Regions from separate parts of the Homo sapiens genome. Here region 1 is linked to region 2. The links are contacts of gene promoters, found by promoter capture Hi-C in blood cells and fetal thymus (Javierre and others, 2016). All regions are on one chromosome and are shown on one strand. Each heading gives the region's core, a stretch centred on a gene start or on the middle of the fragment in contact. The rest is flanking DNA. Distances are from core to core; before and after follow the strand shown.

What was found. Contacts are between HindIII fragments. The CHiCAGO score rates a contact against its expected background, and 5 or more counts as called.
Region 1: a contact is called between the fragment with the promoter of DHH here and the fragment with the promoter of TROAP in region 2, in 9 of 17 cell types (neutrophils, M2 macrophages, erythroblasts and 6 more). The highest score is 12.3, in neutrophils.

What each region holds. Positions count from the first base shown.
Region 1 is chr12:49,091,886-49,096,349 of GRCh38, reverse strand. It overlaps DHH (desert hedgehog signaling molecule), which reads left to right and starts at 1,549. Exons shown (of 3, transcript NM_021044.4): 1 at 1,549-2,140. The coding sequence starts at 1,838. It overlaps DHH-AS1 (DHH antisense RNA 1), which reads right to left and starts at 4,256. Exons shown (of 4, transcript XR_007063295.1): 1 at 4,008-4,256; 2 at 3,445-3,520; 3 at 2,162-2,228; 4 at 606-949. RefSeq lists a cis regulatory region at 3,595-3,612 and an enhancer at 3,532-3,676. The HindIII fragment of the contact is 10,631 bases long and covers 1,325-4,464 here.
Region 2 is chr12:49,320,075-49,324,504 of GRCh38, reverse strand. It overlaps TROAP (trophinin associated protein), which reads right to left and starts at 1,250. Exons shown (of 15, transcript NM_005480.4): 1 at 1,156-1,250; 2 at 753-901; 3 at 468-660. The coding sequence starts at 896. TROAP-AS1 (TROAP and PRPH antisense RNA 1) reads left to right here. Exons shown (of 8, transcript NR_120449.1): 1 at 1-13; 2 at 166-358. RefSeq lists enhancers at 1,027-1,176, 2,318-2,537. The HindIII fragment of the contact is 3,639 bases long and covers 1-1,648 here.

The DNA of each region.
Region 1 (4,464 bases), core at 300-2,799, 230 kb after region 2:
CTAATTTTTGTATTTTTAGTAGAGATGGGGTTTTGCCATGTTGCCTGGGCTGGTCTTGAACTCCTGAGCTCAAGTGATCCACCTACCTTGGACTCCCCAAATGATGGAATTACAGGGGTTAGCCACAACACCCAGCCATCTTTTTTTTGGGGGGGGGGGTCCTCACTCTGTCACCCAGGTTAGAGTGCAGTGGCATGATCTTAGCTCACTCTACAGCCTTGAACTCTTGCACCCAAGTGATCCTCCTTCCTCAGCCTCCTGAGTACCTAAGACTACAGGCATGTACCACTACCTCCCACTAATTAATTTTTTTTTTTTGAAACGGGGTGTCACTATGTTGACCAAGTTGGTCTTCAACTCATGGCCTCAAGCAGTCCTTGCCTCGCCCCCAAAGTGTTGGGATTACAGGAGTGAGCCACTGTGCCTGGCCTGGTTTTTTCTGATGTACACAAAGTTGCTATGAGTACTAGCCATAGAGTGTGGTGAGGGGAGGGTGAATATGAAACACAAAGTGTAGATTCCACAAATGCTTGCAAAGCACCCTTCTGTAGAGTAGGCACTTAACCTTGGAGATACATGATAAATATGTGTGTGCTTAAGATTGCTTTGTCTAGTAAGGTGCCAGATAATTCTAATACTGTTCTAACACTGCAGTTAAGTAATGGTTCTCGAGGGAACACAGGTGGGCAGTGTTGGGACATCAAGGAAGGCTTCTTAGAAGAAATGACTTCTAAACAAAAGAAATTGGACGTGGTGCCTCTGAGATGAGATCTGAGTGGCTGAAAATGGAGCCCCGGGAGTCCAGAGAGGGAGAAAGCTGGAGAGGTGCCTAGATGGACGGTTAAGGGAAGTGATCCTCACCTCTTACAAAGACTTTTGAGTGTCCACTGCCCTTCAGCAGCTTCCAACTGAGAAGTCATTCATTTGAAAAACAGCAGCTATTAGATGCCTGGCAAAGAAGAGAAGGGGAAAAAAGTTGGAAGTCCTAAATGAGACAATAAGTACCAAGCTCTGTTCCTGGTTCTGGGGAAGTTCCAAAGGAGACTGCAAAGTTAGTAGAGAAATGGGCCCCTGGTATCCTCACCTCCCAGTCCTGCTTAATGCTGAATGTGAGGAGAGATGGAAGTCGGGGAGATCTGGGGAGGACTACAGAGAAGGGAGGCTCTGGTTGTATGCCCAAAGGGCTTGGCTGGTCTTGGGCAGAAATTGGAACCCATACTTCCTGGATGACAGCGGAGGGCATGGCCTGCCAGGGTAGGCTTTGAGAGAGTAAAAATTCCAATTCAAGTATCAGAGGAGGGTGGTTTGGTTCCAAGTTTAAGCTTGGAGGTAGAAGGATGTTTAGGCAGCCAAGGACTGTAAAGCTACAAGTATTTCCTAGGCAGGTGTCTGCCTGGTTTCCAGGATGGGACACACTTCAGTCGCAAAATGGACCAGCAGTGACCGGCTAGATCCCCCGCCCGGGTGGGAGGGGGTGGGACGGTCTTGGGAGAAGGGCGGAGGGCGGGGCCAGGGGCCACTTAAGGCGGAGTCCGGAGTCCGGGCGTTCTGGCAGCACCAGAGTCCTGCAGCAGAGACGGGCTGGGCTGGCACTCACCCACGACCCCCCTTCCCTGCTATGATGGTTTGTCAGTAGCAGGTCCTAGACACCCCCCGCCCGCTCCCGGGGCACGTGGGCAGAGCTAGCAGCAGCCAGGTGCACGGAGCCACAAGAGCTCTAGGGCACTCTGGGGGCAGCTGTGCCTGCTGCCCTCTCTGGTGCCTGTGGAGATGCCTAACTGACAGGAGAGTTAGTGAGGACAAGAACGCTCCCTTTTGGCCGAGGTCCGCTGTATCCATGGCTCTCCTGACCAATCTACTGCCCCTGTGCTGCTTGGCACTTCTGGCGCTGCCAGCCCAGAGCTGCGGGCCGGGCCGGGGGCCGGTTGGCCGGCGCCGCTATGCGCGCAAGCAGCTCGTGCCGCTACTCTACAAGCAATTTGTGCCCGGCGTGCCAGAGCGGACCCTGGGCGCCAGTGGGCCAGCGGAGGGGAGGGTGGCAAGGGGCTCCGAGCGCTTCCGGGACCTCGTGCCCAACTACAACCCCGACATCATCTTCAAGGATGAGGAGAACAGTGGAGCCGACCGCCTGATGACCGAGGTAAGGAGGGCCTCTCCCTACCTGCGCCGGGGCACTGCCAGCTCCTCCGTTTTCCTATGGCAGCCCAGGTGGGTGAGTCCAGCTTCACCTACAGAGAGTTTAGCCTTAGAGATTTCCCTTGTCACCAGCCCCAGGGGGGGGAAAAATCCTTGCAGTCTGGACAGAGTAATTAGGACGGCTCCCGACTAGAATAGTCTGGGATGGGGAGGGGAGGAGGGACTGACTAGTGAGAGTGAAGCTGGTAGAGGCAGCGAGGGCGGGGAAAGGAGGATGGCGGCAGGCGAGACGGGAAATGGCTGAGGCGTGGACCGGGGGTCAGCCACCCAGCCAGGCAGGAAGGGCTGGGGTGAGCTGGGGGCCAGGAGCTGGCTAGGTAGCAGACAGAAGCCTGGCTCCTGACCTGATTGTAGAAAAGCTCTGTGGGCCGAAAAGAAGAGACTGAAAAGGGCTGGGACAGGGGTGGCCAAGGGTCAGGTCACCAGACCATCTACCTGAGGAGGGGCTGGGCAGACATTGCTTTTGGCATGGGAAACGTGTCCTAGAACCAGGACACATCTATTCTAGGGTCTATTCTAGGGCTATCCTAGGGTCTAAACGATAATCTTGGGGTTAAAAAGTAATCCTCAGTGAGAATAACAGATGGACCCACCTGAGAATCAGAGGGCTCCTAAGTCTTCCAAGCTCTGCCTATCTCAGGGGCTTTCCTTGGAATTACATAATTAGGATAAATTCAACTACCATTTTTGAGCATTGGAACCACCTAGAGTGAGGTGGAAGAGAAGGACCACCTCTGGCGAGTGATTTATTTTTTATTTTTTGTAGAGACGGGGTCTTGCCATGTTGCCTAGGCTAGTCTTGAACTCCTGAGCTCAAGGGATCCTCCCACCTCGGCCTCCCAAAGTGCTGGATTACAGGTGTGAGCCACTTCATCCAGCCTGGCCAGTGATCTTGAATGTTAGAACTGAAAGAAAACTTGAGAGATGACATTCCTCCAACCCTCCCCACCCCCACTGCCACCCTCATTTTACATCTGAGAGCTGGACTTCCCCCAGGAGGAAAAGCAATTTAAACTCTCACAATTTAAAGTGGCATGGCTGGGACTAGAATTCAGGACTCCTGATTCTAAGCCCTATATACTTTCCATTACACCACCTAATTGTGTATGGAGTGGGGAGGTGGGGGGAGAGGGAGGGGTACGGATTTCCTCTGATTAATTGCCATAGTTTTCCAGGTTACTTTGTTAGGAAAACCTGTCCAGGGAAGAAATAATTCCTTTTGCTTCTGCCCTGAAGCCTTCCTCCTACCTAGAGATGGGAAAAGGGGCATTCCTTCTTTCCTCCTTGGCCGTGGAACATTGTGGCCCTTTCCTCTGGTTGCCACCTGCAGCAGAGTGGGCAGAACAAGGGACAGGCTCAGGAGGGGCTCCGGCAGGCCTGGGAGCCCCCTCAGTCTTACTTATCTCCCACACCCTGGCTGCAAAAGGCCTCCATTGAGTTGGCTCTGCACTGGGCTGCTGCCCCCGCAGGTCAGGGCCTCGGGGCCTCCTTAGGGGACGAAACGACAAAGTTGGAAGGAGCTACCACTTTTCCTGTTTTCCCCCCACCCAACCCCAACTCTGCGGGGTGGAGGAGACTAGAGGAGAGGGGAAAAGTGTCTTTCTGTTAGGAGAAAACCAAGTCCGAGGTGAGAGGTCGGAGGGGAAAGAAAAAAAGGAAGCTGTCCCTCTGCGCCTCCTCCCGCGGTGTCCCTGCTATGGTGCGCGCCAAGGTCTCCCGCTCCCAGGCTGGAGCGGCCAAGATAACTGTGGTCTCACTCCCCCAGGTGCAGGCTTCCAGCCGCAGCTTCTTTTCCTCTTCTCCGCTCTCACCCTGCAGGGGGCTCCCCAGATCCGCACAAGGAGACCGTTATTCTCAGGTGCTACTCCCACGCCCTTCTGGGCTGCATCTAGAGCAGAGATGGGAGAGATAGGGGCTCTCCGGACTGGCAGAGCCTTAGCTGGAACTGGGAAGACTGGACGCGCGGGGGGAGGGGACCTACCCGGACGGAGCAGGGATTGGGGGCGCGGCTTTCTGCCCTTTCCTCTCCCTGAGCCGGGGCGGCTGAAAAGCGCCTTTGTGGCCGGAGCTGCTGAGTCCGCTTCTCCCAGCGCGTTCCCGGCCTGGGCTCAGGATTCTCGCTCGGTTAAGTCATCCCGGATAATGGCCATTGTACTTCGCGCAACCCCCGCCACCCCAATCCTTTTTCCAGCAGCCTTGATCCCGCACAGCTCCTCTTGGGCACCTCTCTGGGGGGCACCCAGAGCACGAAGGGGTTAATGCTAAGGG
Region 2 (4,430 bases), core at 1-2,500:
AAACTATAGACAGGTAACAGACTCAAGCCAAGGTATATACATGTTATAAAAGAAGTGCTGCAAAGTATTAGGAGAACACAGAGCAACTGATTGTGACATGGGGAACTGGAAAAGGCTTCAGAAGAAGTGATATTTATTATTTATTTATTTATTTATTTTTTAAAGAGATGGGATCTCCCTCTGTCATCCAGGCTGGTCTCCAACTCCTGGCCTCCAGTGATCCTCCTGCTTCAGCCTCCTGAGTAGCTGTGATTACAGGTACAAGCCATGGCACCTGGCGAGATGACATTTTGCTGGAGGAAAGGGAGATCTTCTAAGAGCAAAGAGCTTTCCAGGAGCTGGGACCAGGACTATCACAGTAAGTAGGAGACAGCAGGAGTGAGTGCAAAACCCCAAAACCCCACTTTTACCCTTCCTAGTCCCCTACTCAGCCATGGAGGCCGTGTTACCATGGCTCCAACAGGTACCTGTCTGGGCAGGGGGCCCAGGCCCCACATTTTGACCCCTAGGGCTAGGCCTGAGCTCTTCCAAGGGGTTCCGAGGCTGACTGATCCCCACCAATCTTTGTGATGTCTCTGCCTGGTGCCTGGCTTTCGGCCTGGGGCCTGCTGAATCAACGAGGGGGCGTTGAATATTGAGCGGTGGTTTCTGCACCCATCTCTAGGGGAGGGAGCGGGGACAAAAAGGTGAGGTTTAGTGTTGGGGTGCATTACTGGTGTGACTACTGTCTTCCCCCATTAGGCCCCTCTTACCCTTGGATCTTGGTTCTCCTGGTCCACGGCGCACGATGTAACAGTGGGGAAAGGCGTGCGTTTCTGAGAGCGTACCGGAATCTTGCTAGGGGTAGGAGATACACCCCGGAGGAGGGGATCCTTCGTGGCTTGCCGGGTGGTCATGATGGCTACAATTGAGACGGGGAAGAAGGCAGGCAGAATCTAAGATCAAAGATCAACCAGTTCTCGGGGCACCTGTCCTGCCATCCCTGATACCTCCGCCCTAATCCACGCGCCCACAAGCCCCCGGCGCCTGCAAGACCGCTCTTATGGGTGCTATCTCCAGACACCCCGAGCCTACTCTTTCGCCCTCGGGCCCCAAACTGCCCTCCTCCCTATGAACCCAGCAGCCTTCGTTCCCTTCAAGACCCCCGTGCCTTACCTTACCGAGGCCCCTCAGGGCCTACCCAGCTTCCTCCGCTTTTCTCCTGACCCTCTCGGGTGCTGCTGGAGCTACTTTCTCAGTTTGTAAAATACGCCAAGCTCTTGATTGGCCCGGTCGCGCTCCCGCGGAGGCCCGCGTAGCCAGACTCAGCCGTCCAATCCGCGGGCATCGCAGGAGGGGCCAAAAGAAGGACCAATTGTCGAACCGCTTTCTGGCGAGGAAAAAAACTGACTCGGATCAATCAGCCAATCCGAGAGTGGAGCGCCGCTGGGAGGCGGGGAAAGAGGAAGGATGGGGCCGTTCCGAGGCCGGGGAAGGCGTAGCCACGGGAGCTCTCGCGAGGCCTCAGGACCGGCTAGGGGCCGGCCATTGGCAGGACCGGGCGAGGTCGCGGTACTGAGGGTACAGTTGATCGTTCCGATTGCTGCCAACGGTGTTGAAGGCTGGCCCGAGCCCCCGACCCGGCTTGACCATAGCACGGCGCCAAGCTTTGGGGACGCCATTCCAGATGCCCATAGAAAATATCTGCGTCCGGGCGCGGTGGCAGGCGCCTGTAATCCCAACACTTTGGGACGCCGAGGCGGGAGGATCTCTTGAGCTGAGTTTGAGACCAGCCTGGGCAACATAGCGAGACCACTCCCACCCGTTTCTCTACAAAATAATAAAATAATAATAATAATCCCTGTGCAGTGGTGCGCGCTTGTAGTCCCAGCCGCTCTGGAGGCTGAGGCAGGAGGATCGTGTTGAGCCCAGGAGGTTGAGGCTGTAGTGAGCTGTGGTCGCGCCACTGCACTCCAGCCTGGGCAACAGAGACCCTGTCTTAAAAAAAATAAAGAGGGAAAGAGAGAACATCTGTACGTTGTCTCCGGGATAAGGAACTGCCTTCAAACGGGCGGAGAGGGCTGGAGGGAATCGAACTGAGCCTAACAATATGTGTGCTCCTTGGAGCCTCACAATCCAGTGAGGTGTCTGATGAGGTGTCTTTCATTTTACGGGTAGGTAACAAGACTCATTGTTTTTGAACTCAGTTACCACAGCACCAGAATTGAATGGCTACTCACAGCTGGGGATTTCCTTGCCTCCAGGTTGCCTTTTGCAGATCTAGAGGTCTGGGGAGAGGGGGCTCACCTGCTGGTTATTGGTGGGCAAGGCTGTGAGACTGAGAGATCCTAGAATATCCTGCTTAAGATGGAAGGGGTAACCCCTAACGGGGGACAGGAAATGAACAACACTTAACAGAACTCTGGTGGATTTTCCCCACCAATCACAGAAGTTATTCTTACACAAGCCAGAAACCGAGGAGTTACTCCTTAACTCCTCCCACTCCCTTTACATATCCCATCTCTCATTCACTCTCACTAGTTTTACTATTTATGCATTTTTGGGACAGGGTCTCACTCTGTCGCCCAGGCTGGAGTGCAGTGGTGCGATCTCAGCTCACCGCAGCCTCGGCCTCCTGAGGTGGGAACCTCAGCCTCTCAAGTAGCTGGGACTACAGGTGCCTGCCACCAGCTAATTTTTGTGTTTTTTTGTAGAGACAAGATCTGGCTACGTTGTCTAGCCTGGGGTTACAGGCGTCTTTCCCAGCACTTTGGATGGCCCAGGTGGATCGCTTGAGGCCAGGAGTTCCAGACCAGCCTAGACAGTGTAGCAAGATCCTGTTTCTATAAAAAAAAATTTAAAGATACGTAAGGTATCTTTACTAATTGTATGCATCTTTAAAATTCATCTACTTTCAGGCTGTGCGCGGTGGCTCACGCCTGTAATCCCAGCACTCTGGGAGGCCAAGGCAGGGGGATCACCTGAGGTTGGGAGTTCAAGACCAGGCTGACCAACATGGAGAAAACCGTCTCTACTAAAAACACAAAAATTAGCCGGACTTGGTGGCTCATGCCTGTAATCCCAGCTACTCAGGAGGCTGAGGCAGGAGAATCGCTTGAACCCAGGAGGCGGAGGTTGAGGTGAGCCGAGATCGCACCACTGCAACTCCAACCTGGGCAACAAGAGCGAAACTCCGTCTCAAAAAAAAACCAAACAAACAACAACAAAAAGATCATCTACTTTCGGCTGGGTTTATGACTGTAATCCCAGCACTTTGGGAGGCCGAGGTGGGCGGATCACCTGAGGTCAAGAGTTTGAGACCATCCTGACCAACATTGTGAAACCCCGTCTCTACTGAAAATACAAAAATTAGCTGGGCATGGTGGCTGATGCCTGTAATCCCAGCTACTTGGGAGGTTGAGGCAGGAAAATCACTTGAACCCAGGAGGCAGAGGCTGCAGTGAGCCAAGATTGTGCCACTGCATTCTCCAGCCTGGGTGACAAGAGTGAAACTCTGTCTCAAAAAAGAAAAAAAATTTCTTACTTTCTCTTTCTTTCTTTTTTCTTTTTCTTTCTTTCTTTCTTTTTTCTTTCTCTCTTTTTCTTTCTTTCTCTTTTTTTTTCTCTCTCTCTTTCTCTCTCTCTCTCTCACTCTCTCTTTTTCTTTCTTTCTTTTTTTTTGAGACAGAGTCTTGCTCTATCCCCCAGGCTGGAGTGCAGTGGCCTGATCTCAGCTCACTGCAGCCTCCACCTCCCGGGTTCAAGCGATTCTCCTGCCTCAGCCTCCTTAGTAGCTGGGATTACAGGCACCAGCCACCATGCCCAGCTAATTTTTGTATTTTAGTAGAGACGGGGTTTCACAATGCTGGTCAGGATGGTCTCGAACTCCTGACCTCAAGTGATCCACTTGCCTCGGCCTCCGAAAGTGTTGGGATTACAGGCGTGAGCCACCGCACCCGGCCCATCTACTTTCTTGTTCTTTGTTAGCACCACCCTAATCCACCTCAGTCTCACCTAGGCAATTGCAAGAGTGTCTTAGTTGGTCTCCCATCCCCTATTCTCTCTTTCTCTTCACACTCTTCCATTCTCCATATAGCAGCTAGAGTAATCTTTCCAAAATGCACATCAAGTCAGGCTACCACTATCCCTTGACCTCTCCCCACTGAAACCCTCCATCTTCTACCACTCTTCCCCTTCTATTAATATCTCCAACTTCATGGCTTCTTTCAATTCCTCAAGTTTGTCCTGATTGCTCTATATGGTCCCTGTTTCTGGAATGTCCTTTTCACTTCCACTTGGCCTATTTATGCCTCCAAATTGATTCCCATTGTTATTTCCTCAGGCCTTCCTTGCACCCCTCTACCTACCACCCACCCCAATCTAGTAAAGACCTCTTGGCTATGTGCTCGCAAAAAGTAATGTTTGTTTCCTCAGAGCATGTATGTTAGTTG